7 separate regions of the Homo sapiens genome follow, and regions 1, 2, 3, 4, 5 and 6 are each linked to region 7. The links are contacts of gene promoters, found by promoter capture Hi-C in blood cells and fetal thymus (Javierre and others, 2016). All regions are on one chromosome and are shown on one strand. The core of a region is centred on a gene start or on the middle of the fragment in contact, and the rest is flanking DNA. Distances in the headings are between cores, read along the strand shown. Region 1 overlaps METAP1D (methionyl aminopeptidase type 1D, mitochondrial). Region 2 has its middle 9.1 kb from the start of DLX2-DT. Region 3 overlaps DLX1 (distal-less homeobox 1). Region 4 overlaps HAT1 (histone acetyltransferase 1). Region 5 holds the start of METAP1D (methionyl aminopeptidase type 1D, mitochondrial). Region 6 overlaps HAT1 (histone acetyltransferase 1). Region 7 holds the start of ITGA6-AS1 (ITGA6 and PDK1 antisense RNA 1).

Evidence for each region. Contacts are between HindIII fragments. The CHiCAGO score rates a contact against its expected background, and 5 or more counts as called.
Region 1: a fragment that was not itself captured here is called in contact with the fragment with the promoter of ITGA6-AS1 in region 7 in 5 of 17 cell types (naive CD4 T cells, total B cells, total CD4 T cells and 2 more); the score reaches 7.9 in naive CD4 T cells.
Region 2: a fragment that was not itself captured here is called in contact with the fragment with the promoter of ITGA6-AS1 in region 7 in 7 of 17 cell types (naive CD8 T cells, fetal thymus, activated CD4 T cells and 4 more); the score reaches 8.0 in naive CD8 T cells.
Region 3: a contact is called between a fragment that was not itself captured here and the fragment with the promoter of ITGA6-AS1 in region 7, in 4 of 17 cell types (total CD4 T cells, naive CD4 T cells, naive CD8 T cells and 1 more). The highest score is 7.1, in total CD4 T cells.
Region 4: a fragment that was not itself captured here is called in contact with the fragment with the promoter of ITGA6-AS1 in region 7 in 1 of 17 cell types (naive CD4 T cells); the score reaches 5.0 in naive CD4 T cells.
Region 5: the fragment with the promoter of METAP1D here is called in contact with the fragment with the promoter of ITGA6-AS1 in region 7 in 1 of 17 cell types (activated CD4 T cells); the score reaches 5.2 in activated CD4 T cells.
Region 6: a contact is called between a fragment that was not itself captured here and the fragment with the promoter of ITGA6-AS1 in region 7, in 2 of 17 cell types (total CD4 T cells and naive CD4 T cells). The highest score is 5.5, in total CD4 T cells.

What each region holds. Positions count from the first base shown.
Region 1 is chr2:172,069,770-172,072,602 of GRCh38, forward strand. It overlaps METAP1D (methionyl aminopeptidase type 1D, mitochondrial), which reads left to right. Exons shown (of 10, transcript NM_199227.3): 6 at 1,138-1,301. Among named protein-coding and RNA genes, the nearest start is that of DLX1, 14 kb to the right of the region's middle. RefSeq lists an enhancer at 2,022-2,833. The HindIII fragment of the contact is 1,811 bases long and covers 458-2,268 here.
Region 2 is chr2:172,110,672-172,113,533 of GRCh38, forward strand. No RefSeq gene overlaps it. Among named protein-coding and RNA genes, the nearest start is that of DLX2-DT, 9.1 kb to the left of the region's middle. The HindIII fragment of the contact is 7,472 bases long and covers 1-2,862 here.
Region 3 is chr2:172,085,882-172,088,721 of GRCh38, forward strand. DLX1 (distal-less homeobox 1) reads left to right here. Exons shown (of 3, transcript NM_178120.5): 1 at 1-109; 2 at 773-972; 3 at 2,122-2,840. The coding sequence ends at 2,376. Among named protein-coding and RNA genes, the nearest start is that of DLX1, 1.8 kb to the left of the region's middle. RefSeq lists enhancers at 1-497, 1,112-1,723, 2,337-2,840. The HindIII fragment of the contact is 3,945 bases long and covers 1-2,840 here.
Region 4 is chr2:171,981,192-171,984,140 of GRCh38, forward strand. HAT1 (histone acetyltransferase 1) reads left to right here. Exons shown (of 11, transcript NM_003642.4): 11 at 1,994-2,495. The coding sequence ends at 2,161. The region is part of intron 2 of LOC124905590 (a long non-coding RNA gene); the gene reads right to left. Among named protein-coding and RNA genes, the nearest start is that of METAP1D, 17 kb to the right of the region's middle. The HindIII fragment of the contact is 702 bases long and covers 1,131-1,832 here.
Region 5 is chr2:171,998,451-172,001,393 of GRCh38, forward strand. METAP1D (methionyl aminopeptidase type 1D, mitochondrial) reads left to right here and starts at 1,503. Exons shown (of 10, transcript NM_199227.3): 1 at 1,503-1,559. The coding sequence starts at 1,520. It overlaps LOC124905590 (a long non-coding RNA gene), which reads right to left and starts at 1,459. Exons shown (of 3, transcript XR_007087296.1): 1 at 1,229-1,459. RefSeq lists a silencer at 1,198-1,497. The HindIII fragment of the contact is 8,153 bases long and covers 1-2,943 here.
Region 6 is chr2:171,959,477-171,962,176 of GRCh38, forward strand. All of the region lies in intron 4 of HAT1 (histone acetyltransferase 1), which reads left to right. Among named protein-coding and RNA genes, the nearest start is that of HAT1, 38 kb to the left of the region's middle. The HindIII fragment of the contact is 1,930 bases long and covers 420-2,349 here.
Region 7 is chr2:172,464,341-172,467,305 of GRCh38, forward strand. ITGA6-AS1 (ITGA6 and PDK1 antisense RNA 1) reads right to left here and starts at 1,682. Exons shown (of 2, transcript NR_157573.1): 1 at 1,484-1,682; 2 at 1-234. It overlaps ITGA6 (integrin subunit alpha 6), which reads left to right. Exons shown (of 26, transcript NM_000210.4): 2 at 1,199-1,323. It overlaps PDK1-AS1 (PDK1 and ITGA6 antisense RNA 1), which reads right to left. Exons shown (of 4, transcript NR_199657.1): 4 at 1-234. RefSeq lists an enhancer at 1,923-2,092. The HindIII fragment of the contact is 13,641 bases long and covers 1-2,965 here.

The DNA of each region.
Region 1 (2,833 bases), core at 113-2,612, 390 kb before region 7:
CCTCTATATTCTGCCACCAACCTTAAACAAGTTACTTATCTGTGCCTCAGTTTCCTGAATTATAAACTGAAGATCTAATAAAGACCTTTCTTGCTTCCTTCACAGAATATGAGAGCATTTTTTAAGAAATGCAGAGTAGTATACAGATTTAAGACATTAATTCAGTATCACAACAGACTGAAAGCTCATATAAACATCTTTTTTATAACAGTTTCTACATTCTACCTTATGAGCAAGAGAAATGTGAAAAATAATTAGATAGGACAAATTTATGCAAAGTAGCAAATTCCATGCTACATCAAAGGATCAGTATCCAAACAGTTGCCTCTGCCTTTTATATTTACTATAGTGCTTGGTTATCAATGATTTATAATGAATCTGGTATCTTTCAAGATCCTACTTGGCTTCTGAATCACTGAAGACTGATAAAATTATACTTTCTGTAATTGTGCTTTTAAGCTTGTTTTATTATATTCTAATTCTTTAGATATCCATATATAGTGCTTTCTGTTAACGTTCGGCTGTCTGGAACATTTGATTAAGATTTCACTTCTAGACATAGGATTTTTCTGTAACACATTTCATTCCTATATGGAACCACTTCAATTCTTAGAACTGAATTCTCCTATTTGTTTGTTAGAATACAGACATGTCTATCTTACTTCTTCTTGTCATTATATATCACTTCAAATGTAGAACTGGTAAATACAAAATCAAGTAAGTCTTCATGACATTGAAGAAACTTTTCACTATGTTAAATACTTTTTGGTTCTCTAAACCTGTTGTGGTAATTGTAGATCAAGGTCTTTGGCTACTAATTTTTGCTTATATAATTTTGTCTTCTCAGAAATAAAGTGAGGAATCAAAATATTACAGTAGTATTGTTCATCATAATGCTGAAATAACCATACTAGTTAACATAGTTGTTTTTAAATTTTGCAATATCATTGCATGGCTTCATCTTTTAAATTTCTGCAAGGTTTCAATATATCTATTTCTTCTTTTTTTGATAGGCAAATGAATAATTCTGGAAGGGTAAAACATGAGTCTACTAAATACATAAATGAATACAATGTATACTTTAGGAAAGTAGATTTTTAAACAAGGACATATTTTTAAATTTCTGCTTATGTTTAGGTCTATTACAATGGCTACCATGGAGACACCTCTGAAACATTTTTGGTGGGCAATGTGGACGAATGTGGTAAAAAGTTAGTGGAGGTTGCCAGGAGGTGTAGAGATGAAGCAATTGCAGCTTGCAGAGCAGGGGCTCCCTTCTCTGTAATTGGAAACACAATCAGGTAAGCCTTACATTGACAAGTAAAGGGAGGGTTGGCAAATGGTACAAAGGTTATTGGTGGCTTGGTATAAAGTTGATGACATGTTTTATGATTCAGAACCATCATTTCAGTCTGATATCAGTATGTGAACTGCCAGGCTGCAATATTGTTCCCTGAGTTGAAAAAAAAAAAAGATTTTATAAAAATGAATTATACCAGGGTCAGCAAAGAAACTTATAGAAGGAGCAAGCAATATTTACATGGCTGCTTTTGTTTTAGCTTGACATACTGGTCTATAGTTTCCCTTTATTCAAAATCACACCAAATATGGAAGGGAGTACCTAAGAAGGGGATGAGCATCTCAACCCTGGGGTTTTTAATAAGACAGGAGAAAAACTAAATTTTATAAAGGAATGAAGTGAAATGTATTTCTGTGATATGAAGATAATAAAGTGTTAGTTCAAGCAAGCCTTACCTTTCAAATTGGTAGATTAACAAATAGCCTGAAACGGTGATCTTCTGTTCTTTTTTTGTCTGGTTCATTTTTCCTGTAAACCGTTGTTTATTTTTCACAGAGTATTCTATCCTTACTTTTTGAATGTATGTGTATGTGTGTTTTCTGAATTTAAGACTTTTCTTTATAATCTGTTACCTACTTTTAGGTCTTTTTTCCCCCATAACTGTTTTGAAGTAGACATGCCGAATATATGTTTTCATTTTAAAGTAATGCATTCTGTTAAAGATGATCACATCAGTGCCCTTTAAAGTACTGTTCTCATTAATATGAACCATTGAATACTTCCCATTTGTCTAAAGGATGGAAGGCTTAGTCACCTTGAAAAGATGCTGCCTTTTTTTCTTCGTAAGCCTTCAAATACTTTAAGAAAAAAGCCAGTAAAATATCAGTTAAATGTATTTATGGCTTTAAAAATATTGTAACAGTGTCTGAATCAAACTTTAGTAAAATCTCTTTGGGTTATATCTGAGAAGCTTTTATTGAAGACTTTGAACAAAATTGTGTTTTTGACAGTTTTAAATTATAGGCTAACTAGCCTGGGAAAAAAGGATAGTGTCTCTCTGTTCTTTCATAGGAAATGTTGAATCAGACCCCTACTGGGAAAAGAAATTTAATGCATATCTCACTATCTTACTGTCCATGAATATAATAGAAATGAATTCAAAATGCAGTTTTATTTTTGCAAATGGGATGAGTCGATAGATGCACCTCATATTTTTGAACACCTAGGGTTCAACAAATTTACTGGTGGTGCTCTTGCATTTTAACAAAATTTATTCTTCAGTAGAAGGGGGCAGAGAACACTAGATTCTTATTCAAGCATTCTATCGAGCTCTGCATTCATGGCTGTGTCTAAAGGGCATGTCAGCCTTTGATTCTCTCTGAGAGGTAATTATCCTTTTCCTGTCACGGAACAACAAATGATAGCTAACTACAGAGGCACATTTGCAGTAGTCACATTCATCAACTGCAGAAAAAAAAATTCAATTTAATTGTGCAACACAGCTGCACATGGGCTTTTGAGCATTTCTGTTGT
Region 2 (2,862 bases), core at 188-2,687, 350 kb before region 7:
GTGCAGTGGTGCATCTTGGCTCACTGCGACCTCTGCCTTCCAGGTTCAAGTGATTCCCCTGCCTCAGCCTCCCGAGTAGCTGGAATTGCAGGCGCGTGCCACCATGCCCAGCTAATTTTTGTAGTTTTAGTAGAGATAGGGTTTCACCACGTTGGCCAGGCTGGTCTCCAACTCCTGACCTCAAGTGATCCGCCCGCCTCGGCCTCCCAAAGTGCTGGGATTATAGGTGTGAGCCACTGCGACTGGCTAGCATTTTTATTTTTTAGAAATCTTGGCCGGGCGCGGTGGCTCACGCCTGTAATCCCAGCACTTTGGGAGGCCGAGGCGGGCGGATCACGAGGTCAGGAGATCGAGACCATCCTGGCTAACACGGTGAAACCCCGTCTCTACTAAAAATACAAAAAATTAGCCGGGCGAGGTGGCGGGCGCCTGTAGTCCCAGCTACTCGGGAGGCTGAGGCAGGAGAATGGCGTGAACCCCAGGGGGCGGAGCCTGCAGTGAGCCGAGATTGCGCCACTGCACTCCAGCCTGGGCGACAGCGAGACTCCGTCTCAAAAAAAAAAAAAAAAGAAATCTTTTCTTTCTATGTCAGTCGTTACAGAGCAATCATTTTCTTCTTAAGGTGAATGTGTGAGGAAGGTATCATCATTTATTTGACTATCTTCTTTGCCTTGTCATCTAGATGATTTCCGATATTTACAAACAACACATGAGTGAATGTCTTCTGGAGAGCTTTGCCCACATGTTCAATTATATTTGTAAACTAGAATCCTAGTAACTGAATTGTATGTCAACATTTTAATAGCTACCACTAAGCTCCCCTTAAAAAACAAGCAATTTAAGCTCTATACTCATTTCTGAGCACTCTCACCAAGAATATTAGGAATCTTCAGTGTTTTTTGAATATGATAGGCTTAAAATAGTGCCATATTTTAACTTGCAAAGGCTTTACATTAGTAGAGTGTGTGTCTTTTTTATTTTATTTTATTTTAGAGAGGGATGCTCTGCTATATTTTGTCCAGGCTGATCTTGAACTCCTGGGCTCAAGTGATCCTCCTGCCTCAGCCTCCAGAGTAGTTGGGACTACAGGCATGTGCCATCGCATGCTTGGCTTGTGTTTTTATATAGGCATTTTATTTTCTTCTGTGAATTGCCTATTTTTGTTCTCTGCCCATTTTTCTGTTTTTAAAAAATTGATTTACAGGAAATTATTACATATTTTGGAGATTAACTCATTATTGTGTTTATAGTCAATATTAATTCCAAGTTAATTGCTTCTCTTTTACTTTTGTTTATTCTCTTTTCTAGTTCAGAGATTTTAAGTTTTGTATGGTCAAATATGTGACTCTTTTTTTTTTATGGCTTCTGGGCCTTCAGGTCATGATTATAGATGCCAATACTTTTTTTTTTTTTTGAGACGGAGTCTCGCTCTGTCACCCAGGCTGGAGTGCAGTGGCGCGATCTCGGTTCACTGCAACCTCCGCCTCCTGGGTTCATGCCATTCTCCTGCCTCAGCCTCCCAAGTAGCTGGGACTACACGTGCCCGCCATCACACCCGGCTAATTTTTTGTATTTTTAGTAGAGACAGGGTTTTACCATGTTAGCCAGGATGGTCTCAATCTCCTGACCTCGTGATCTGCCCGCCTCGGCCTCCCAAAGTGCTGGGATTACAGGCGTGAGCCACCGCGCCCGGCCTATAGATGCCAATACTTTTAGATGTTAATACTTTTAGAGTTAATATATACAGTGGTTAAAAGTATGGGCTCTGGGCTTAAATCCTAACTTGGCTACTTGCTAACTGTGTAAATTAGGGAAAGTTATTTAACTTTTCTGTGCCTCTGTTTAATGTTTAATTGAACAAAACTTCACTTAGACTACTGAAGGATAGTTGTGGAATGGACCAAGTGTTGTCTCTCAAATCTGATTTTTGGGGAATGCAGCTAAACTACTCCCTAGCCCCCTTTGCACTTATGTGTAACCATGTCATTCAATCCAAGAGAATGGAACATAAGTGGAAGCCATGTGTGCCTCTCCCAGGACAGGACCTTTTAGGCAGAGTTGAGACTCCTCTCTGCTCTCTTTTTCCTTCCGCTGTCTGGAACCAGCTTCAACTATGAAGATGACATGGCCCTAGAGTCTCCTAGAGGCCCTAGGGGACTCACCGCCTAGGGGAATCTTCATCACTTGTTTGGAAGGTTATCTGACCAAGAAATAAACTTACATTTTAAGATACTGACTTTTGGGATTATATATATACACACACACATATATATACACACATATATATATGTACACACACATATATATATCTATACACAAACATATATATATGGCAGCTTATCTACTATAGCTAATACCATGACCTTGAAGTTAGGATGCAATGACTTTGTTAGGAAAAAATTACAGGAAAAAGTCCAGAACATCCTTTATCTGTGAAAACCAGATGAATGGGAAGCCAAGCACAGACCTGAAACCATTTGATTCCTAGGTGCATTCAGTCCATGAATAGAAAGAGGTTAGCATAGCTGGTTGTTATCCTTAGGAACATAAGTCTTTAATGATCATTAGTGGGGTTCTTTCACTTCTAAGCCCAAATCATATGCGTTTCCTTTTAAAGGTGATGGATTGCAGAAATTTTGTCACTGTGCCACATGGGACCCTCCCCTCCATGTCAGTGTCACTCTTGCCTTGGGCACATGCTTATTATGCTTAGGAGTTGTCATGGGGTGATAAGCCAACTTACTACTTTAGTCTTTTTTGGACGACAGTGCCTAGGATAATGGAATGAACAAGGCAAAGGCAGCACAAAGAGAAGAGGTGCTAATAATGAAATAACTTCAAATAGGAAAAAGAAAATTAAAA
Region 3 (2,840 bases), core at 322-2,821, 380 kb before region 7:
TACCCCTACGTCAACTCGGTCAGCAGCCACGCATCCAGCCCCTACATCAGTTCGGTGCAGTCCTACCCGGGCAGCGCCAGCCTCGCCCAGAGCCGCCTGGAGGACCCAGGTACGTGCGCTTGCCAGGGAGAGGGAGAGGAGGAGGTACAAGGGAGAGAGGGAAAGAAGGAGCGGGGGAGAAGAGGAGAGGGAGAGAGAGAGAAAGAGAAGAGAGGAGAGCGAGGTGGGGTGGGGGTGGGGAGGGCGCGGGAGCAGTGGAGGTTTCGAATATCAATCTATAGATCCTTGTCACAGCAAATAAATTTTTTTAAAAATTCCCTCAATTTGCAACTATCCAGCCAAGGATAAATCCCAGAGCGTCTCCTGGCACTGGCTGGGCCTCTGGGCGGCTCGGTGTGCAGAGCACACAATGCCCCGCTGGAAAACAGAAACCCACATGTGCACGTATTAGTCTCGGTAATTATTTATTGCGTAGCGCTATAAACAATGTATGCAATTAAGGGTAATTAAACCTCAACTACCGCCTGCAAAAATAGCAAACTTTCCCTGCAAAGGCAGGAGCTGAGCTCCTGGGAACGGCTCTATCCCTCCTGCAGCGTCCCGGGACAGGCCCTCGGATTTTGGGGGACCCTTCCCTGGCTTTCAGAGTTTCTTGAACGTTCTCTCCCTGGTGCTGCCTCCGCCACCCTTCGGTAGCCACTCGCTCTCGGCTGTTCGCACTAAAGGCGGCCCCTCGTATTAACAACGGGCCCTACTTCTGCTGTCCCTCCAGGGGCGGACTCGGAGAAGAGCACGGTGGTGGAAGGCGGTGAAGTGCGCTTCAATGGCAAGGGAAAAAAGATCCGTAAACCCAGGACGATTTATTCCAGTTTGCAGTTGCAGGCTTTGAACCGGAGGTTCCAGCAAACTCAGTACCTAGCTCTGCCGGAGAGGGCGGAGCTCGCGGCCTCTTTGGGACTCACACAGACTCAGGTACCTCGCCGCTGCCGCTCCGTTCTGCCACGCAGGCTTTCCGCGGCCGGCCTGCGCCCGGGTCTTCATTTGTTGCTCGCTGGGACTCAGGGTCGGGGTGTCACTGTGTGTATGTGTTTGTGTCCACCCCTGGCTCTCAGCGTGTCTCCTTCCTCCCTCATTCCCTCTGCCCTAGCTCTGTCACTGCTCTCGGTATCCCGAGCTGCCTGCCGTCCGGCCCTCTGTCCCTGGACAATCTGATTAGGGCGCAGGAAGGATTTCCCCAGACGATTTGTTTGGGAACTCAGAGGTCACACGTGCCTAAACAACTGGAACAATAGACTCCGGGCTTAATCCCTCCTTTGCCTTTAAATTGTGTGACTAATCACTCGGGGCCTGGGTCCGCGCCTCAGCCTCCCTCCTCCTCCTCCTTCTTACCGGTTGGGGGTGGGGGGAGATCCTTTCCTCCGCCCTCTCACCTCTCAAGTCCCAGACCTTAGAGAAGAAACGGGACCTTCCTTCCCGGCTTTCTGTAAGACTCCGGGGAGCCCGTGAGCGTTCCTGACGGCGGCGGGCGCGGGTTTCCGACGTCCGGTCCGGGATTTGGAGCAGAGCTGGAGAAAGCAAACAGACACTAGTGCAAGAATGGTTTTGAATCCAAAGAGAAGTTCAGCAAAACCTTGAGGCCTCCTTAGTCCGTCCCAACTCAAGGGCAGAAAAGATGGCGCATAGAAAAGTTGGGTCGCGTTGCAAATAAATTTCCTCCACTCCTTCCTAGGTTTTCGATTCTTTTTATTGATGTTGATATTGGAATTGCTGGCTCGGTGTTATGCAGGCGCTGTATCTTCCGCAGGCGGTAGCCACGGTCGGACTGAGCCCCTGGCAGGCTAAGGCCTGGATCCCGGTTCTCCCCTCATCACAACTCCTCCCTGGCTCTCTGAGAGCTGCCCCCGTGGGCTGACGGCGGCGGGAGGTTCGGCCTTCGAGCCTTTGGCTCTTATGGGGGAAGGGAGGAAGGAGGGATGTCTCTGCTTCTCTGGCAGGGAGCTGCCAGCTGGCGCAGGGTTGGGAGGTCCTATCTCTGCTGTTCTGCGGTCCCTTTTTTCCTCCCTGTGACCTAGGTAGGCTCAGTGGTCCCAGCCTGAGTCACGTTGTTGTCCGCTCTTGCAGGTCAAGATCTGGTTCCAAAACAAGCGATCCAAGTTCAAGAAGCTGATGAAGCAGGGTGGGGCGGCTCTGGAGGGTAGTGCGTTGGCCAACGGTCGGGCCCTGTCTGCTGGCTCCCCACCCGTGCCGCCCGGCTGGAACCCTAACTCTTCATCCGGGAAGGGCTCAGGAGGAAACGCGGGCTCCTATATCCCCAGCTACACATCGTGGTACCCTTCAGCGCACCAAGAAGCTATGCAGCAACCCCAACTTATGTGAGGTTGCCCGCCCGTCTCCTTCTTGTCTCCCCGGCCCAGGTCCCTCCCGCCTCCAGGTCCATCCATCCCGTCCGGAAAAGAAGGACCCAGAGGGAAGAAGGAACAGTGGAGGCGGGACGCCCTCCATCTCCTCGGAGCCCCGCGAGGTCCGGCCCAGCAACTTCCCGGCATCCGCGCTCTAGCCTGAACCCTGGCCTGGGCCGAGCAGTGGCAGCAGAGAGTGGCCTCGGAGGGAAGCCACTGCCACCTGAGACAGCCCAAGCAGCAAGATAAACCCGCTCCACCCGACCCGCCGACCTTCAGCTTTGTGGGACTATCAGGAAAAAACAAAACAAAAACAAAATGTAGAAAAAGCAAAAGCTCTTTTCTGTCCTGTCAGTCTCCTGTCTCCTTTTGCTCTGTCTGTGCGCTGGTAAAGTCCAGGTCCTCATCCGTCCGCTGTCCTCATTCTGCGGCCTCAGCAAA
Region 4 (2,949 bases), core at 232-2,731, 480 kb before region 7:
TAGTTGCAGCTGAGTAGTGGGATGATTGGCAGAATATTTAATTTATTCAACATATAATTATTGAGTACAGTTGCTCAATGATAAAATGTTGTTGCTGCATTTATATATACTATACCTATAGGGTTATACATCACAATAGCTGGGAACATAAGTGACCAAGTTGATTCTACATTACAATTTGAGAAAGTAAATTAACTAACTGTATCAGGTACACATAGTTTTGGTTTTCCTTTGTAAATTTAAAGAAAATTTAAGTTTTATTTGCCATGGATTCTGCTTTATAGAGCCAGTCTTGAATGCTGATGGTTCATTGGCTGACACTACTTGCTGAATCCCAACTTTTCCTTCATAGCATCTTTTTACTTTGCAGTGCAACTGTATTTCCTAATTTGTCATTGTAATTCTGTTCACATTCTGAATATAAAATTATTATTTGCCTATGACTAAATCATTTTATCTTGAATTCATACACAGATGTATGAATAGTTCCTCATAGTGTCATTTCATTGCAGTTTAATAGTTTTTCTATTTTACAGACCATCATCTGCATATAGCAGGTTTGTAATAAATTATAATGGTCTCCTCAAAAGTTATCCAAAGTAGCATTTTATTATTTGATGTTATCAATTCAGAAACATCAGAAAATGGGTAAAAATGGTATTTTCCAAAGGTTTTGACCTTTAAGTAATATTTGTTAGCTAGAAAATGTCTTAATGATGAAATTTGGGCACAGAGAGCAGTATAGATGGCAACATTTAAGAGTTATTAAGATTTTACTAAAGTAAAATAATTTATTGAATTATATATTTTAGATATTAATGTGACTTTTATATAAAATATAACAAATGAAAGATGGAAATTCTGAGTACAAATAGTAGTCACACAGCTAATGCCAAATAATGGGAACCTCTGTAGTTCATAAGTGCAAGTATTTTCTACTCTTAAAGAATGATAATTCTTTTTTATATTATTATTAAGTACCTTTACCTGTCCAGCCAGTTCACCAGTCTAAAAGGCCAGAACTGGGCCGGGTGTGGTGGCTCATGGCTGTAATCCCAGCAGTTTGGGAGGCCAAGGTGGGTGGATCACTTGGGCCCAGGAGTTCTAGAACAGTATATCCGAAACATGAAAGCTTCATATTTGCAATAATGCCACCCAACCAGGAATCCTGGAGTTATTCTTCATTCTTCCTTCCTCATATCACCCAGTATTTTCTCCCCTAAATCTGCCCTGTCCTCTCCATCTCTGCTGCTGCTGACTTGATCTAGGCTTTCATCAACTCTGGCTTGAACTACTGCAGTAGCTGCCCAGTCCTCCAGTCCCATCCTAAACATCTCTGACACAGTGTCCTGCATAAAAGTTGTTATCAGCTACCTGTTGCAAACTCCTTAGCATAGCGGTATCCTAAGTCAAACCAGGAGGGTTTAGTATGATAATGTATGTCTGGAACTTAATAAAGACTCAAATGCTATTTAATATATTTTTAAAGTATAGCAGTTTTCCATTTGTCTTTCTGAAACATTTCTAACAGTTTATGTTAAAATTAGCATGTGGCCCGTAAGTACTTCACTGGGTGGAATTTAAAATGTAATTAATTAATGACTGAATAGTAAAATGAAGAATAATAGCACTTAATCTCAGTTGTCTTTCTTCAGCTAATGTCTTCTATCTATTAAGCAAATATTTGAGTGTCTATACTGCCCAGAGTTCTTTAAAGTTTTGGAGGGGGCTGCTAGTCACATGTCTGTATTTACCATCATTGGACACAAATACCAGGTCTTCTTGTTAACTCTTTTTAGAGGGTTTGCAATTCATGGTTAACATTATGTTTAAGCTTCCTTAAAAAACAAAACAAAACAAAAAAAAAACATTGTGGGACAAGTTTGGGCGTATTCATACTATTCTTATTTTTAACATTGGAGACTTAAAATTGTAAGACTATAAGGAAATATATTTACTTTCTTCGTCTAACAAATAATTGTTTGTCACTTAGAAAAAGCAGAGAGATCTTGCTAAGATGAGAAAATGTCTCAGACCAGAAGAACTGACAAACCAGATGAACCAAATAGAAATAAGCATGCAACATGAACAGCTGGAAGAGAGTTTTCAGGAACTAGTGGAAGATTACCGGCGTGTTATTGAACGACTTGCTCAAGAGTAAAGATTATACTGCTCTGTACAGGAAGCTTGCAAATTTTCTGTACAATGTGCTGTGAAAAATCTGATGACTTTAATTTTAAAATCTTGTGACATTTTGCTTATACTAAAAGTTATCTATCTTTAGTTGAATATTTTCTTTTGGAGAGATTGTATATTTTAAAATACTGTTTAGAGTTTATGAGCATATATTGCATTTAAAGAAAGATAAAGCTTCTGAAATACTACTGCAATTGCTTCCCTTCTTAAACAGTATAATAAATGCTTAGTTGTGATATGTTAATGTGTGATGATATGATTCTTAAATACTTACAATAAACCTCATTCTTAAATACTTATCATTCCTTCCACACTTTGCTTCTAAGATTTTACATCTGACACCTTTAAAACATTTCTTTAAGGTTATCCTGGTAATTTTATTTTTTCAATATGATTTTTCTTTCTTTTTTAACTTTTAGATTCAGGGGTACATGTGGAGGTTTGTTACATAGGTAAACTAGTGTCTTGGGGGTTTCTTGTACAGATTATTTCAACACCCAGATACTAGGCCTAGTATCCAATAGTTAATTTTTCTGCTATTCTCCCAACCTCCACCTTCAAGTAGGCCCCAGTATCTGTTGTTCCCTTCTTTGTGTCCATGTGTTCTCATCATTTACTCCCACTTGTTAAGTAAGAACATACAGTATTTGGTTTTCTGTGCCTGTGTTAGTTTGCTAAGGACAATGGCTTCCAGCTCCATCCATGTCCTGGCAAAATACATGATCTTGTTCTTTTTTATGACTGCATAGTATT
Region 5 (2,943 bases), core at 253-2,752, 470 kb before region 7:
ATTTGCCACATTCAAAAATGCTCTCCCTGGAATTGAAATGAGTTTGCAAAAGGTAGGAGTACATTTTATTCTCATTCTTGTGCATCTTATTTACCCTGATGGAAAGCATTACTTCTCTTTATCTTTCAAGGTGACCCAAAAGCATCCAAAACCAGGTTTTCCAGAATTATAGCATGTGTCCTCTAATGAAATGCCAACATTCACTCTCTTTAAAAGTAAAAATATCAAGATTATATAGTCATTAAAAAGAATAAGTCTGAACTAAGTGTTCTAAGATTTGATGCCTATGATGACTGGAATGGAAAAAGCAAGTCATATGATTCTATTTAAAATACTTACATTTGCCTGTGTGTAAAAGGCAAAGATCTCAATTGAGCACACGGTGGTTAACTGGGGAGTGGGACTATGGTATGTACAGAGGGCGAGGAAGGGGCTTGCACTTGTTCCTTATTTCTGAATTGTTCTGAATTGTCTAGATTATTCACTGAGTGTGTAGTGCTTAAAAATTAATTAGAAGACATCACACACATTCACTGAGAATCCTAATCAATCTTCACTGCATTTAAAGTCTGGAAACGGTTACATTCTCAGTTTGACTGGTTTCATGCAGTGTTCAATTGCTTCACCTGACATTCCTCGGGTATCGGGTTCTGTGCCGGGCACGGAGGCTACTAAGATGAATAACACCTGGTCCATGACAGGATGGCATCTACCCCAGAACACAGGTAAGAGAGACAGTGAATTTGGTAAAAATGGGCACCGTCATCAGTAGGCATACATCAGCTCCCTCATCTGATTCACAATTGGCCTTCTGTAGGCTTCTTCTCTTGGCAATGCAATTGGCAGGCGTCATCCTTTTATACTTAAACTCCAAATTTAGGATTAAGACTCCAGTTAATACTGCCAAGCAGAAGGCGTCCTTGGAGAAAGAGAAGTCTCCTGAACATACCCACTGGGGTACCTAGAATAGATTTTGCAGCGACACACAGATCCTGTGTTGTCTGGAGTCTCTGCTGAGTAATGTAGATTCTGGGACAGCAAAAGGGGAGCTGGTGACTTTGAACCAAATTTTACCTTTCAACTGAATCCAGGGGAATAATTTGCAACAGAGTGGCAGACGATACAAAGTGCTATGTTGAACACTAGATTGTGCTTTATTTTTTCCGCCCAACTTCACGTTTCCATGCACCAAAATGTTGATGCTATAAATATTGGATGCCACGCTTACCTGACAGGCTTCTTCCATCCCACCTGGGCGCGGGGGCTCAGAGCGAGCGCGCGAGCCGCGGCTGGAGCCCGCCTCTCGCGGCTGGAGAGGACTCAGCCGGCCGCGGGTTCTGCTGCTTGCCCGGGTGCCCTAGCCGCTTCCCAGCCAGGGCTCCCGCAGTCAGCCCCGCGCGCGCACGCGCGCTCCCCTCGGGCGGCCTCGACGCCTCAGGGCTTCGGCAGGGCTGCGACTGGCCGGCTCCAGCGGGCGGGGCGGCGAGCGAGTGCTCGCGGCCACGTGACCGACGCCAACATGGCGGCGCCCAGTGGCGTCCACCTGCTCGTCCGCAGAGGTAAGCGCGTGGAGGAGAGCCCCGTGAGGGTTCGCACGGTTGCTCACTAGGTACGCACCCGGGTCCAAAGGGATGCGCACCCGCGCTCAGACTTCTCGGCGCACACGACTGTACTTTCAGTGTTTACGAACACACGCAGGCACACACGATGACACATTCACACACCACAGGATCACACATACAAATTTGTTCACTGATCACCCGCCTAGAACACGTCACCACGTGGCATCTTTTCGCAATTACTCCTTGAGATTTGCGGGCCATTGTCTGAAGTTTTTTTCCCCAACTTCGGTTGTATCATTAGTGTAACCAACATTTATTCTGTATGCCGAGCAAGGAAACCTATGGTAATTCTGAAATGCATCTGGACACCCGGTTCCCTTCCCTAGAGCTTTTATGCAGGCATGCTTTTTGGGGACTTGCAAAATGTGATGGTTTTCTTCCAGTGACTTAAAGTTAAGAAGATAAGAAAGGATGTCTGGGTAGTTCTAAGTAGGTTTTATCCTGCGTGAGTGTTGAGATTTTAGTAAATATACAAATGCCTTTGCAGCAGAATTGGGGAAATCTTTGTTGGATTTGAACTAGGTGCTGAATCTTTGTTGGAAAGAACTAGAAAGTTTTTCCAAGGACGGGGGAAGAGGAAAACTATCATATTTTGAGGAGCTACTTAAGCGTCAGGCATGTAGGAACAGTTTTGTGAGGTAAATATTATTTTCATAGTAACAGCTACTGTTTATTAAGTGCCTTTTAAGTACACGATACTGTGTTAAGCGCCTTACATATGCTTGCTTCCTTTTAAAACTCAATGAATGAGACCCCGTCTCTACAAAAAATTTTAAAAATTAGTCGGGCGTGGTGACACATGCCTGTAGTCTCAGCTATTCTGGGGGTTGAGGTGGTAGGATCGCTTGAGCCTGGGAGGTCAAGAGGCTGCAGTGAGCCGTGATCGTACCACTGAACTCCAGACTTGGCAATAGAGCCAGACCCTGTCTCAAAAACAAAAACAAAAACCCAGTGAGTTAGGAATTATTTTCTCTTTGCAGAAGGGAAAAGTAAGGCTAGAGAGGTTAAGTAACATTACTAAGGTCGCATAAATGGTAAGAGGCAGATTGCTCATTTGAACATGACTCTAATTTTTTTTTTTAAGACTCATTTCTCGGTACTGCATGACGTGGTCACTCCATAGAAGTCAGTGTGTAAAGTTCAGCAGAGACAGTGCAGGATGAGTGTGTACAAAAAGTGAAGAGAGCCTGGGCACGGTGGCTCACACCTGTAAACCCAGCACTTTGGGAGGCCGAGGCAGGTGGCTCACTTGAGGTCAGAAGTTCAAGACCAGCCTGGCCAACATGGTGAAACCCCGTCTCTACTAATATACACAATTAGC
Region 6 (2,700 bases), core at 135-2,634, 510 kb before region 7:
CTTGAAAATTAGGTTTTTCCATTTAGAAATACTGTGTTAGGAATAAGGAATCAATCTTTTATAATGTCTCTTTGTAGAGTTACTTATTTGCTTTGTGGTCAAAGATCATTTATATTGCGTATTCAAACAAAGACTTTTTTCCCCTTATTAAAAACGATTGGGTAGGGGATATGTGGGTCATGGGCTTGCTTCTTCTATCTCAGTTTGCAGTGAGTGTTCATTCCATAGTGCCTTCTGTGTTGTTGATGCCAGCGATACAGTGGCAGACAAAGTCATGGAGCTTACATTCTAGCCAAGAGGAACAGTCAGTAAACAAAATAGTAAATACACAAATTAAATTCAGGCAGTATTATGAAGATACATTTTGCTCATTTCTGAATGATAAAGGAGGAACCAGCCATGTTATAATCTGAGGGTAAAGCTTACTAAGATACAAAGGCTCTAAAAATACAGCATTTTTGGCATTTTTGTAGTCCAGAAAGATTACCAGGGTTAAATCATTGTGGTGATGGAGAGAGGGGTAGGAGATGGTTGAAGGGGATGCAAAGCTAGATCATCATATAGGATCTTGTGTTCTGTGATAGGTGTTTGCAAGAAATAAGAGTAGTTGGCATTCTTTAGAGGCATTCTTAAGTAGGTGGAGGTCATAAACAATGTGATTTATATTTTTAAAATATGATTCTGGCTGCTGTGCAGAGAACACACTGTATAGGGCAAAAGTGAAAGAAGAGACCGGAACATTGCAGTGTTAGAGGTGACACTGGACTTAGTTGTCAGAGTAAGGAACATTTTGGAGGTCTGCTGTTGAATTAGATGTGACAGATGAAGAAAAAAAACGAGAACCCCATTGCCCAAGTTCAATTATGGTACTGTTAACTGGGAAAACTATAGAAGAAATAGGTTTAAGTGGAAACAATAAAAAAATTTTATTTTGGATGTTAGGTTTGAGTCTAATATATTAGGGCTTTGCAGATCATACTGCATAGATGGTCAGCAGCCATAACATCTGCTTAGAAGTTATTTCTTATTAGGATTATGTCATTACATTAATTTTTAATCATCCATTCTTTTACTTTTCCAAGCTGAATGCTCTAGTTGCACCTAAAATTCTTCAGTCACAATTAAGATGCCTATAAAATCTCTACTAGCCACCATCTTTAAAGGAAACATAATTCTGAATTTTACAATACAATAAACTTGATTATTCAGACACTGATGATTTTTTCATCTGGTTGTCCTTGACCTTTGCTTTTATTAACACCTCCTGCTCTGTGCTTGTAATGCCAGCTACTCTGTAGGCTGACTCAGGAGGATCATTTGAGGCCAGGAATTTGAGACCAGCCTTGGTAACATAATAAGACCCTGCCTATTAAAAAAAAAAAATGCTGAACGTGGTGGCTCAAACCTGTAATCCCAGCGCTTTGGGAGGCCGAGGTGGACAGGTCACTTGAGGTCAGGAGTTTGAGACTAGCCTGGCCAACATGGTGAAACCTCATCTCTACCAAAAGTGCAAAAATTAGCCAGGTGTTGTGGTGCGTGCTTGTGGTCCTAGCTACTCAGGAGGGTGAGGCAGGAGAATCACTTGAACTCGGGAAGTGGAGGTTGCAGGAAGCCGAGTTCGCGCCACTGTACTCCAGCTTGGGTGACAGAGCAAGACTCTGTCTCAAAAAACGAAAACAAAAGCTAGGCATGATGGCATGCTCCTGTAGTCCCAGCTACTTGGAAGGCTGAGACAGAAGGATCTCTTGAGCCCAGGAGGTCAAGGCTGCAGTAAGCTATGGTTACACTACTACATTCCAGCCTAGGTGACAGAGCAAGACTCTTGTCTTAAAAACAAAAACCTCCTGCCTTTTCTTGGGGGTAATTTCATTGCCTTTTAGTGAAGTAGTGGGTAACTAAGATTGTTGTCTTGCTAATTGCTAGCATTTCTGGGAAAAGTTTGGTACAGGAAGTTGAAATAGATGGATAAAGTTTGTATTAACTGTGAATTTCAGTTATTTTATCCTAGTGTCCCACTAATTGGATTGAATTTGAGAGGATATGAGAGCAGATTTTAAAAATTTTATGGAGTGTTTAGCCTCTTTCTAGGAAAATCCTACATACTTCCAGAAATTTCGAAAAAATCTTTGGTAGACTAGTAAAATTTCAAATTGTGATGGTGTTCTTGATAAGTAATACTTTTTATGAAATATCATAAAGAGCTTTAAAAGTATATATTGACAAGTTTATCTTGTTTAGTTCAAGTAGCAAAATACTAATGCAGTGTAAATAAACATAATATGACCTTTGTTTTTCCATTAGTGAAAAAGTTCACACTTTTAATTTCTCAACAATACATTCTGTAGTTAAAGCTTAAATATTATCAGAGAACATGAGATTGAGAACATTAAGTAGATACAGAATTTCTTTTGCTTGTTTTTTTTTTTTTTAGCATATTTTAGGTAGTCTTAGAATTATAGTTAAGTCTATGTACCACTTTAGCCAAGTAAAGAACAACATGTTACCACCTACTTAACGTGCCTTTAATTTCAATCTCAAAAATAACTAGACAAATTTAGACAAATGGTGCTGCTTAAGATAAGATGTTAGAGAGGTTATTGGGTTTTCAAATGTGTATAAATACAAATATAAACATTAAAAAAATAGATTACTAATTATCAGGCATATCGCTTTATTCAATAATGAGGAAATGCAAAAATT
Region 7 (2,965 bases), core at 432-2,931:
TTGCTTTTGCTTCTGAGATTTGTGGGTTTCTTGATGGCCAGGAGTGGCTTGTTTTCTGTTGTAAGAATTTGTTGTTTGTACAGGTTCGTGTTCCCAGTCCTTTTCCTCAGCTCCAGCCTTGTTTCCAAAACTCTCAGCTCTTGGTTTATCTCTGTCCAGTCAGGTGTGTGTTCTTTGTCTTTGTTTCTTGTCCTAGTTGTTCCATGAGTCAGCCAGGCCTCAAAGATTGTAAACCTGATGGTGAGTAAAGGTGTTAGCAAAAGAGACCTAGCAACAAGGTCATTGGATCTCTAAAGAGCCTGTCAAGCTGTGAGATGGTGAAATTTTAAGGACTGTGGATTTGGACTGGGGGCCTCCTTATAGGAGATAAAAACACTCGGCTGGGGAGAAGAAGGAATATTACAGTGCCTAGTACATAAGTGGAGCTACACCAGTTGTCCCTGAATCCTTTGTGGGAGACTGATAGGATGAGAGAGGACGAACTCTTGTAATGTGACAAAAGTGCAAGGAAGTAAGAACTGACTTGGAAGAACAAACATCAACTTGTACACCTCAAATATATCTGCTTTTTATTTGTCCATTCTACCCTAATAAAACTGGAGGGAAAAAAAAAAAAGAATTGGAAAGAGGCCAAGGCTGCAAGTGAATAATTCAGTCGAGTTGTATCTTACTTACCATTAGGTTCTCTCAATTAGTATATAAACTGAAAATCTAAGATATAGTCAGAATTACCCTTGAAAACTACCTCAGGAAGGCACAGTGTTAGAAACTGACATATTATTGCTTATTACATTTAGTGTGGCCATTTTTTCCTTCCATTGTCACAAGTATTTGGTTTCTTCTCTTGAGTTTCATATGATATCCCTGGCATCATAGGGGCTTAGAGGTTGTATTCTTTGAAGAGGGTGTCTTTTAAACACCAGATCATACCCAGCAAGAAATGCTGATACTATGAGAGACAGGCCTATTTTCCTCGTTTTGGTATCCCCTCTTTGGCTTCCCCTGTTTAGTTGTGTTTGTGCGTTTTGCATGAACCAGCCATAGGACTCTACATTTGTTCTCACTCACTGCCTAAGCTGTTGAAGAATTAGTGGACTCCTAGACAAAGAATAATCCCACTATCTCCTAGTTCTGACTGATTTAACTGTTAAACGTATATTAAATTCAAATCTCCAAATTGTCTCTGTTTCATCAACAGGTTGCTCGTGGGGGCCCCGCGGGCAGAAGCGCTTCCACTGCAGAGAGCCAACAGAACGGGAGGGCTGTACAGCTGCGACATCACCGCCCGGGGGCCATGCACGCGGATCGAGTTTGATAACGATGGTGCGTTCCTTTCCCTCACTCAGCGTTCACTCCGGCAGCTTGCCTGTACTGTTTCCATGAGGGAGGAGAGTGGGGACAAACATTTATTCTTGTAGAGAGGACTTCTTTTAATTGCATCAGACTTGACTGTTTTTTATTTGCCCTGAAAATATTTACTTACTTTACTTCTGAATCATACTGGGATGCCGCGTGTTTTGCTGCTCCTCCTAACCGTGGTTTCTAAACCGATATGGTGTAGGGATGTTGCCACCTAGTGATGTGTTGAGGTTCTGCAGGAGGTTGTGGAAAAACTCATTTCATAGCAATGAAGAGAATGAATGAGCGTATCTTGTATTCATCAGCCAAAAGTTCTCACATGCTGTTAAAATATTTGGGAGAAAGACAGTTTTAAATATCAGACCCCTTTGGAATGAGAGCTGGCTAACAGAGATAAAGTTTTCCCTCCTGTCTCAGATAGAGACTTGTTTTGTTAAGGGCTCTGGATAGGTAGAAGATACCATGAGGTAGGCATGTTGACATCCAGTGTACCTGGCTTCTTGTAGGTTGAGCAGAGCAATTAGTGTACTGAGAAGCTCTAGCCAAACCTCGTTTGATATGTTCGGTCTAAGTAGATTTGCAGATTCGTGTCTATGTTCTTCTCTTGCTTCTTCATCTTTTAGAAATAACATTTGTTGGCCAGGCGTCGGTGGCTCACACCTGTAATCCTAGCATTTTGGGAGGCCGAGTTGGGTGGATCATTTGAGGTCAGGAGTTCAAGACCAGCCTGGCCAACATGGTGAAACCCCATCTCTACTAAAAATACAAAAATTAGCCAGGCGTGGTGGTGTACGCCTGTAGTCCTAGCTACTTAGGAGGCTGAGGCGTGAGAATTGTTTGAACCTGGGAGGCAGAGGCTGCAGTGAGCCAAAATCGTGCCACTACACTCCAGCCTGGGTGACAGAGCAAGATACCATCTCAAGAAAAGAAATAACATGTGTTCTTTTATTAGAAACTAATATGTGTTAATTTTAAGAAGCTGGTAAAATACACAGACCTATGAAGAATAAAAAAACCCACTGGCAATCTCAGTATCTAGACTTATTTTTTAACATTTTGGCATTTTTCCTTCTGTCTAAAGTTGTTTAATGTTTTTGTAATGATTCAAGATTAAAACCTGTGTCTGTATTGCTACTTATGGAGGAGTGCAAAATTTGGATATAGGTCACACAGTGGGTTTAAATTGATACTGAAATGAGCACCTGGTGGTGTTTGTGGTCCCCGTCTCTCTGACTAACAGTAACTCTCCTGTTTGGCATTGATACATTGTCAGCTACAAGATCCTAAAGTAAATCTGAGTCTTTTTCTTCCATCTCCAGTAAAGAAGAGAACATTTAATGCTGTTAAATAAAAAAATTGGGGAGTATATAGAGAAGTACCCATTTTTTTTGTTAGTTTGGATGGTAGCTGCAGTTTGGAATACTAGATTTTACATTGTTGCCTTAAGAGATGTATTTTGGAGGGCTCCCTTAGTCTTACAGTTTCACTTACCTTCTGCATTCAGGACCCTAGGTATCAAGAGAGGGCAAAGGGTATTGTTGGACAAAATAGGCAACTATATAGAGCTAAGTACTTTATGTTTCAAATGTTTGAAAGATTCCAAAAA